3 separate regions of the Homo sapiens genome follow, and regions 2 and 3 are each linked to region 1. The links are contacts of gene promoters, found by promoter capture Hi-C in blood cells and fetal thymus (Javierre and others, 2016). All regions are on one chromosome and are shown on one strand. Each heading gives the region's core, a stretch centred on a gene start or on the middle of the fragment in contact. The rest is flanking DNA. Distances are from core to core; before and after follow the strand shown. Region 1 holds the start of ALKBH8 (alkB homolog 8, tRNA methyltransferase). Region 2 overlaps SLC35F2 (solute carrier family 35 member F2). Region 3 has its middle 12 kb from the start of SLN.

Evidence for each region. The method cuts DNA at HindIII sites, captures the fragments that hold promoters and counts their contacts. A CHiCAGO score of 5 or more calls a contact.
Region 2: a contact is called between a fragment that was not itself captured here and the fragment with the promoter of ALKBH8 in region 1, in 1 of 17 cell types (activated CD4 T cells). The highest score is 5.8, in activated CD4 T cells.
Region 3: a contact is called between a fragment that was not itself captured here and the fragment with the promoter of ALKBH8 in region 1, in 2 of 17 cell types (endothelial precursors and M2 macrophages). The highest score is 5.9, in endothelial precursors.

What each region holds. Positions count from the first base shown.
Region 1 is chr11:107,564,093-107,567,159 of GRCh38, forward strand. ALKBH8 (alkB homolog 8, tRNA methyltransferase) reads right to left here and starts at 1,643. Exons shown (of 12, transcript NM_138775.3): 1 at 1,509-1,643. RefSeq lists enhancers at 994-1,512, 1,316-1,805, 1,513-2,029, 1,876-1,935. The HindIII fragment of the contact is 7,705 bases long and covers 1-3,067 here.
Region 2 is chr11:107,789,375-107,792,441 of GRCh38, forward strand. SLC35F2 (solute carrier family 35 member F2) reads right to left here. Exons shown (of 8, transcript NM_017515.5): 8 at 1,617-3,067. Among named protein-coding and RNA genes, the nearest start is that of SLC35F2, 68 kb to the right of the region's middle. RefSeq lists a silencer at 1,201-1,410. The HindIII fragment of the contact is 818 bases long and covers 1,123-1,940 here.
Region 3 is chr11:107,698,613-107,701,679 of GRCh38, forward strand. No RefSeq gene overlaps it. Among named protein-coding and RNA genes, the nearest start is that of SLN, 12 kb to the right of the region's middle. The HindIII fragment of the contact is 712 bases long and covers 1,302-2,013 here.

The DNA.
Region 1 (3,067 bases), core at 393-2,892:
ACATTACTGGAGTGAAGTCACTATTAACTATGATACTAGCCATGCTGAGTCCGGTTCAGCCAGCTCCAGCCTAAGCGTACTCTCTGTGGGATAATGAAAGTTTGGAGATTATGCATGCTCTGCTACTTGCTTGTTAGTGAGTTTAAAGCCAATATATCCTACTAGATATTGCCCTACGTGGTAATAGTAGTATGTACATCATGCCCTCCTTGAATAATAGAGAGCCTATTATGAAACAAGCAGTATAGACAAATGTTCCTATACTTATATGTTTAAAAAAATGCAAAAACCATGATTACTTTTGCACAACCTAATAATTAATAGCAAAGATTAGAAAGAATCTAACTTCCTATCAAACGAGGCCCAATTTTAACGTACGGCACTGGTATACAGAGTTTACATATAAATCTTTAGGACACACAAGAAATTGGTGATATGGGTTGCCTCCAGGGAAGGAAAATGGATCGATGAGTAAAGGAATGAAAGGGAGCTTTCTTCTTTCATGACTTTTGAAGTTAGTAGCTATTTAAACTGCATCATCTATTTAAAAAGAAAATAAAGATTTAAAATTTTTAGAAAAAAATTCACCCCATCACTTGTCACGGCACCCCGTTTTAACTCTTTGAATAACACTTACTACATATTTTCTTACACTCTCATTAATTTGTTTATTCTGTCTTTCCCCATAACTGAATAAAGAACACTCACTCCATGAAGTAGAGATTTTGTCTCTATTGTTCACCCTGTAGCACCCAGCACTTAAACAGGATTTAGCACCTAGCAGCCACTCAATAACCATTTGTCGAATAAACCTAAATCGACTTTGCTGTCTTACCTCCTAAACCTCCCCTCCTCCAGAATTCTGAGTTTGGTGGCCTTCTTCAACGTTTTCATTAACACCTAGCATGGACCTCTATCTCTAGAGTTCTCACATGGTATTATAATTGCCTGTTTGTGTTGGGCTTCGGCCAGAAAACTGTCATCTATTTAAGGGCACAGACTTGGTGCCTGACATACAACTGACAATAAATATTCAATGAAATCTATCAAAATAACAGGCTGACGCTACCAGAGGTCCAGGAGTCGCAGGGATTGCTCAAATAAGAGCACAGGAAGACTCAGCTGCGCAAGGGATCAGATCATCAGCACTGCCTTTGCATCGATGCAATCAGACCGATTGTCACCGGTCAGAAAAGCCCCAGAAGCGCCACACTAACACGCCCCATGTTGCAACCGTCCTCTCCAACCCCAAAGAAAACAGAAGATTGACACAGGCACCACGTGAGCGCCCGAACCAAACACAAACACATGCACCCTAAACACTGAGAGAACCACCCAACGCAGACACCCTACTGCCCACACTGCACCAAGGGCGCCTCTGGGATCCATCCCCTTTCCCTAGGTTCTCAGCCCTAGCTGGCAAGGCGGATAGAGAAGACCGGAAGAGGCTGAAAAGAGGAAGCGGTGATTTGCTGCCCGTATGCCCGCCAGTAAGAAGTGCCACACACCTCCGCTTCGGCTCAGGCCGGATTCTCACCATGCGTGTGCCTTCTTCTTTGCCAGCCTCTCCACTCTAGCACCAGAACACCGCAGCGGATACTTGCACGCCATCTCCCCTGGGCGCGGCCATGTTGGAGAAAACTGCACTACATTTCCCATGAGCCCGCGGGACAACGAACAGCGCTCCCACAGTCCTCTTCGCCTCCCAGAGCCCGGGAGTGACCCTTTTTCGACCAAGTGTCTTTGTAAAGTGCTGTCTGTTACACTGAAAATTCAGTTGTCTTTTTGGGGGGAGTAGTAATAATTGGTAGTGCAGCTATATTTTTATCTGTTGCTCTCCAAATGGACAAGGTCAAACAGGTTTGGGCCCTTTGGTCTTTCAGCAATGTCCCCTGGCACCTTCTATTCTTCGTGCATATTTCCTCCTGAATCTTATTAGAGGTGAGAAAGGAAAATAAATCTTGGTGCCACAAAATCACTAAGCTAAAGGGAAAAGTCAAGCTAGGAACTGCTTGGGCAAACCTGCCTCCCATTCTATTCAAAGTCATCCCTCTGAGTCATCCCTCTGCTCACTGAGATAAATGCATATCTGATTGCCTCCTTTGGAAAGGCTCATCAGAAACTCAAAAGAATGCAACCATTTGTCTCTCAGCTGTAATACGTGCGACCTGGAAGCCCCCTCCTCACTTTGAGTTGGCCCGCCTCTGCTTCAATTTGTCCCTCCTTTCTGGACGGAACCAATGTTCATCTTACATATATTGATTGATGCCTCATGTCTCCCTAAAATGTATAAAACCAAGCTGTGCCCCGACCACCCTGGACACATATCATCAGGACCTCCTGAGGCTGTGTCACGGGCGGGCGTCCTTAACTTTGGCAAAATAAATTTCCTAAATTGTCTGAGACCTGTCTCAGATATTCAGGGTTCACAGAGATATGGGAGAGGATCCTGGGGTCTGAAAGATGGCATTGCATGGGCGGGAGGGAAGGAAGTGAATATGCATGAATGTGCCAGGGGAATGGTGAGTACCACAGAGTAATAGAAAGATGTGTGGAAGAATGGTGAAGGAAGCAAGACAGAATTCTGTAGGCCTGCAGAGTGGGAGTTGCAGGGAGGAAGGTTAGAGAAATGAAATGATATGACCAGAGCTTCTTGTGGCAAGTGGGAGGAGAGACTAGAAGATGACTGATGAAGTGAAAAGTAACGAAATATTAACAAGCCCAGTAGTGGCAGAGGGAAAGAAAAAAGAGCTGGTAACAGATCATAAGTAAAAGACAAAGGAGAGGGTGATGATTAGCAGTTGTTCCTGCTCTGTTATTTGTTATATAAATGTACCATAATCCTTCTACCTGCATTGGTTTATGAGCTATGTGAGTGCAGGGAGGGAAAGGTGTAGGGGAAGAGGAATCACCTTCCCATGTTGTTGATACAATGGCCCCTATCTGCAGTGCACCACAGTGGACTAACAATAAAATAGCTGGCTGACCAGGAAAAGTGGCAGTGAAAAAAGAGTGCTGTTGAGTGGCGGAATGATTTGTGTGGAGAATAGGTTACAAACATGAAAGA
Region 2 (3,067 bases), core at 282-2,781, 230 kb after region 1:
TCACACCCAATCAGGTAGTAAAAAGGGCTCACTAAAATACAAATTAGGCTAAAAGTAGGCAGTAAAGAAATAGTCAAATCATATATCGCCTGAGAGCATGGGGAGGGGACAATGATCGGGATATAAACCCAGGCATTCGAACCGGATCGGGCAACCCCCTTTGGGTCCCCTCCCATTGTATGGGAGCTCTGTTTTCACTCTATTAAATCTTGCAGCTACACTTCTTGTCCGTGTTTGTTACGGCTCCAGCCGAGCCGTCCACCACTGCTGTTTGCTGCCGTTGCAGACCCACCATTGACTTCCACCCCTCCGGATCTGGCAGAGTGTCCACTGTGCTCCTGATCCAGCGAGGCGCCCATTGCTGCTCCTGATCAGGCTAAAGGCTCGCCATTGTTTCTGCATGACTAAGTGCCCAGGTTCATCCTAATCGAACTGAACACTAGTTGCTGGTTTCCACGGTTCTCTTCCGTGACCCACGGCTTCTAATAGAGCTTAACACTCACCACATGGCCCAAGGTTCCATTCCTTGGAATCCACTGAGGCCAAGAACCCCAGGTCAGAGAACAAAAGGCTTGCTGCCATCTTGGGTGTGGCCTGCCCCATCTTGGGAGCGGCCCACCACCATCTTGGGAGCTCTAAGAACAAAGACCTGCACGTAACAGTGCTGGGATTACAGGCTTGAGCCAGTGCACCCGGCCTACTTCCTTTTTCTAAAGTCCATCCTGGTGTATATGTATCCTAAACACCCAAATATGTAACCAAAGACTTTGTGAATGACCCTGCTCACCAAACAGCAACCTTGCAGGATCAGCAACTGCAGTTCTGACTGCGGCTGTCGCTGGTGTAAATAAAATGAAACAATGAGCAAAATAGCACAAATTTAAAACTAAACCATCAGTGTGCTAATCAAACTGAAAGTCTTCCTAAAAGAGCCAAACATTTTAACATAACCTTTCCCACTCTCATAGTTGTTAATGTTAGGGAGCAAAAACCAAACATCGATTGAAAAGGCAGTTTTAATTGGTTGCAGAAAATGAAAGGTTACTTCACTCAAAAAAGTAAAAAAAAACTCATTGTGGTAATTCAGAATTGGAAAATGTTTATTCCTGCAAATGATCGGTAAGCTTGCTCTGAATTCCCTGGAATCCCAGCATAGTCCCCAAATAGACAGGCTTGCCTCACCCCACAGAGGATACGACTCTGAAAAATTGAATATGAAGAAATACTGAATATGTCAAGTCATTCAAAATCCACAAGGAGGCCAGGCGTGGTGGCTCATGCCTGTAATCCCAGCACTTTGGGAGGCTGAGGTGGGTGGATCACTTGAGGTCAGTTCGAGACCAGCCTGGCCAACATGGTGATACCCTACTAAAAATACAAAAATTAGCTGGGCATGGTGGTGCATACCTGTAGTCCAGGTAGGAGAATTGCTGAACCCAGGAGGCAGAGGTTGCAGTGAGCTGAGATGGCACCACTGCACTCCAGCCTGGGCGACAGGACAAGACTCAAACAAAAAAAAAAGAAGAAAAAAAAATCCACAAGGGTTTTGAAGGACGGCTTTACTGGAAAAAAAATCCACAAGGGGAAATGGTTAATCAAAGAAACCACACAGTTGATGTATTTCCATGAATTCAAAGCCTTTTAATGATGTGAACACTTACTCCCCATTTCTTTTTTACATTGTTACAAAAAATTTACATACAGTTTTCTGAAAGTGGCATTTTGTTGGTTGTTATTATACTGATGACACATATTAACACTTTGTATTGAAGAAGTATCATAAAAATCACAGGGCATTACAGATTTTTGATAAGAAGTAGTAATAGCATTGTCTTTTAACAGCTGGAGGCTCCCAGGCATACTCTTTGGTGAGAAATGATTAATTTTATATTTTCATTTTGATGAGAATCTTTTCTTGTTTTTACCAGTTATAAAAACAAAGCTTTTTCTTTGTTGTGATACTGTGCACTAAGACTTAGTTTCTTGAGCTGATGCTAAATAAAATGAGATCAATAGGAATATTCCAGGAGGTCGTGAGAAGTTTTTAGAAAGGATGGCATCTACATATATATGGAGCTCTGAAAACTGTTGGAGAGTATGACCTGGGACTGAAACTGTGGAGCACATAGCCAGTGTCACAGGCTCCGAGAGCAGAGAGAGTTTGCTCTGGGACCTGGAATGAGTGATGGAGAAATGTTTTAAACAAACAAACAAACAGGCCAGGCACAGTGGTTCACATCTGTAATCCTAGCACTTTCGGAGGCCGAGGTGGGCAGATCGCTTTAGCTCAGGAATTTGAGATTAGCCTGGGCAACATGGCGAAACCCCATCTCTCTACAAAAACAAACAAAACAGGCCTGGCACGGTGGCTCAAGCCTGTAATCCCAGCACTTTGGGAGGTCGGGGCAGGCAGATCACTTGAGGTCGGGAGGTCAAGACCAGCCTGGGCAACATGGTGAAACCCCATGTCTACTAAAAATACAAAACTTAGCTGGGCGTGGGGCCACATGCTTTTGTAATCCCAGCTACTAACACTTGAATCCAGGAGGCAGAGGTTACAGTAAGCTGAGCTTGCACCACTGCACTCTAGACTCTGCATCTCAAACAAACAAAAAAACAATTGTGGGAAGGTTCCTAGGTTTACTGCACTCCAGTTTAATGCTTGTATAGTACTCACACTTATATCTCAAGACTTTTCAAGGGCTGACCCACCCGTTTTCTGCCACATGCAGTCAGCCCCAAGGCCTCATCTGTACCCAAAGGCCTGTGGACAATAACTGCCTCAGCAAAAAAAAAAAAAAAAAAAAACCTTGAAGCATCTGACAGAGGAAACGTACTCCAGAGCCACCGTGAGCTGCCCCTGTTCCTGACCACCAAGCCCAGCCTGGACAGCCTGCTTTCCCGCCCTGGCCTGAGGCTGGCTCAGTCCTGGATCTCTCCCCAGTCCTGCTTTCCCACTGGTGCCTCTAAGACCCCAGTGTGGAGTCTGCACCTCATCTCCTCAACACGAACAGATATTGGTCCTCAAACACAGAAACACACTCTTAGCTTGGTTTCTGCTCTATTT
Region 3 (3,067 bases), core at 408-2,907, 130 kb after region 1:
GTAATAATACGTCATTTTCTACCAGCAGAGATATACCTTCATTCTTATCTCCACAGATAAGTGTCCATGTGGTTTGTACAGCTAGGTCTGAAGAATTGGGCTTGCTTTACCTTTTCACTGCAGATAAAAAGGATGTCCTTTGATTTCAGAGAATTAATTGCAGATTAAATACAGCCTCAGCTGAAAGTTCACATCAGCCATTGTGGCATCAGAATAAACATATCTATGACACTGAAAATACTAGGAAAAGATGAAAAAGACAAGATGAAACCACATACAGAGGTCTTCAAGGGAAATACATTTATTTCACTATGTACATCTTTCTCAGGAGCAGAATGCTGTATGGCTCAGAGACTAATCATTAGTCGTATTACATGTCTGAGATGTGCCCTTTCTTTTTTAAAAAATTTTTTAATTAAAAAAAATAGAGATGAGGTCTCACTATGTTGCCCAGGCTGGTCTTGAACTCCTGAACTCAAGCAATCCTCCCAGCTGGACCTTCCAAAGTGCTAGGATTACAGACGTGAGCCCCCATTCCTGGCCTGTGATTTTTTTTTTTTTTTTTTTTTTTTTTTTTTTTGAGACAGAGTCTCGCTCTGTTGCCCACGCTGGAGTGCAGTGGCGCGATCTCGGCTCACTGCAAGCTCCGCCTCCCGGGTTCACGCCATTCTCCTGCCTCAACCTCCCAAGTAGCTGGGACTACAGGTGCCCGCCACCGCGCCCGGCTAATTTTTTGTATTTTTAGTAGAGACGGGGTTTCACCGTGTTAGCCAGGATGGTCTCAATCTCGTAACCTCGTGATCTGCCAGCCTCGGCCTCCCAATGTACTGGGATAACAGGCGTGAGCCACCGCGAGTGTCATTCAAAATGAACTGGTCTGAAACCATGCTTAAAGCCAGTGACATATGGTATAATTCAAAATGTGTCTCAGGTTGGCAGTCTCTCAAATTGCATGTGACTGTCTCTCATTTCCAAAATCAAGATAGTATGATGCATGAGATCAAATCCAATCTTCCAAGTTCGGCTTCCCACTGATTCTGCTGGTCTGCAATATGAATGTGACCCCAGTCATTCTGACAGGATGGGGTAGGGATGGAAATGGTGACTTACAAAAAGGGCCTTGCAATGTTGCCAATGGAGCTCTTTCACTCACAGAGACATCTCAAAATTGATTGCGAGACGCTATGAATGCCTTGTCATTCTGAATGAATGGAAAGCTCAGTGTGGATGTGGCAAACAACAGGAGCTGCTTTCGTGTTGAATCGTCAAATAATCACCATAAAACCTCTGGGCATCTGAAAAGCTTGCCATTGTGAAGTCGAATTAGCTTAGGACTTGGCAGGGTGTTTGTGATGTGGGTGGTGGGTATCACCATGCATGTCATCATTGTAGACACAGCATGTGTTGAAAATAGACTTCTTTCTCCATGTCCTTTTTGAAGCAGTGTCAGAGGAATATAAAATGAGTATGTTGTTGGAAGAGAGACAGCTCACAGTTGGATCTGGATCAGGCAGTATTGGCTGGAACCTGTGAACACTGCCCCGAGACAGATATCTTATCATGCAGACCCTGGCTGGAATTGCTGCTGTTGAGAAAACTCATTTTTTACTTACTTTCCCAGAGAGAAAGTCACAAGATTCGGAATTTTTTAAGTCTGAGGTCTAAAGTAGAGACTGTTTTATGCTGATTTTTAATCCTTGGGTGTAATCTGACTGCCCGGAAAAGTGAAAGCCAAAAGGAGACATAATTTGGAAACACCTATTGATGTTTAATATCTGTAAAGCCATTAAAATTGGAATGACAGTTCCAGCATCTTCATTGAAAATATGTCAAAATAGAACTCTTGCATACAAGTTAATACACTATATAACTTCAGGTTTAAAAAATAACTTTTATTAAGTGGCATCGTAGACAGGGTTTGAATCTCCAAGTACAACAGGGCAAACTTGTTTGGGAGAGAATAAAGACCCAGTGTGGGAACAGACTAGGAATGGGGGTAAAGGGTGCAAGGAAAGCTTTTCCTGGAGAGATGGGAAGATAAAGAATGTACTTTTGCAGTTCAAAGGGATGGGGGTAAGAATTTTGCAACCTCTCCGGAAAAGTGGAATTTTGTGAACTTCTCAGTCCAACCAGAGCCCAAGTTCTTGAAAACAGTAGAAATGCAGGGCTGGGAGCTATGGCTTGCTCCTATGATCCCAGCACTTTGGGAGGCTGAAGCGGTAGAATCACTTGGGCCCAGGAATTTGAGACCAGCCTGGAAAACACAGGGAGAATCCATCCCTACAAAAAAAAAAAAAAAAAAATACAAAAATTAGCCAGGTGTGGTGGTGCATGTTTGTGGTCCCAGCTACTGGGGAGGCTGAGGTGGGAAGATCGCCTGGGCCCAGGAGGTGAAGGCAGCAATGGGCCGTGATCTTACCACTGCACTCCAGCCTGGGGAACAAAGTAAGACTCCTGTCTGAAAGAAAAAAAAAAAGAGCAGAAATGCAAATCTTGGGTGCTGGTGCGGGAGGATGTTGTAGATCTGGGATTCTCAAACTTTAGTGACTATAACAATCACCTGGGGAGCTGGCTTAAAACATAGCAAGCCAGATCCCACTCTCAGAAGTTCCCTGGCAGTAGTTCTGGAGTTGGTGCAGGAATCTGCAATTGAAAAAGTATTTTGAGTATTGTAATTCAAGTAGTTCTTGCATTTTGAGAAATACATTGTATTCTTCATGAGCAAAGGGATTCTACAATTCAGTATCCCTATCCCTTTCCCCTGCTAAAGAAAGAAAAAAAGAAGCCACAACTTTCTCAAAGTGTTTTATTATCCTCTTAGAAGAAATAGTGTTGAAATAGCAGCAGCAGCAACCACCACCCCACCACCAATCCTTGATGCTTTCTTTAAAAGTGTACTAAAATCTTTGGCTGGGCATGGTGGCTCACGCCTGTAACCCCAGCACTTTGGGAGGCCAAAGCAGGAGGATCACTTGAGGTCAGGAGTTCTAGACCAGCCTGGCCAACATGGTGAAACCCCGTCTCTACTAAAAATACAAAAATTAGCCAGCGTCATGGTGCATGCCTG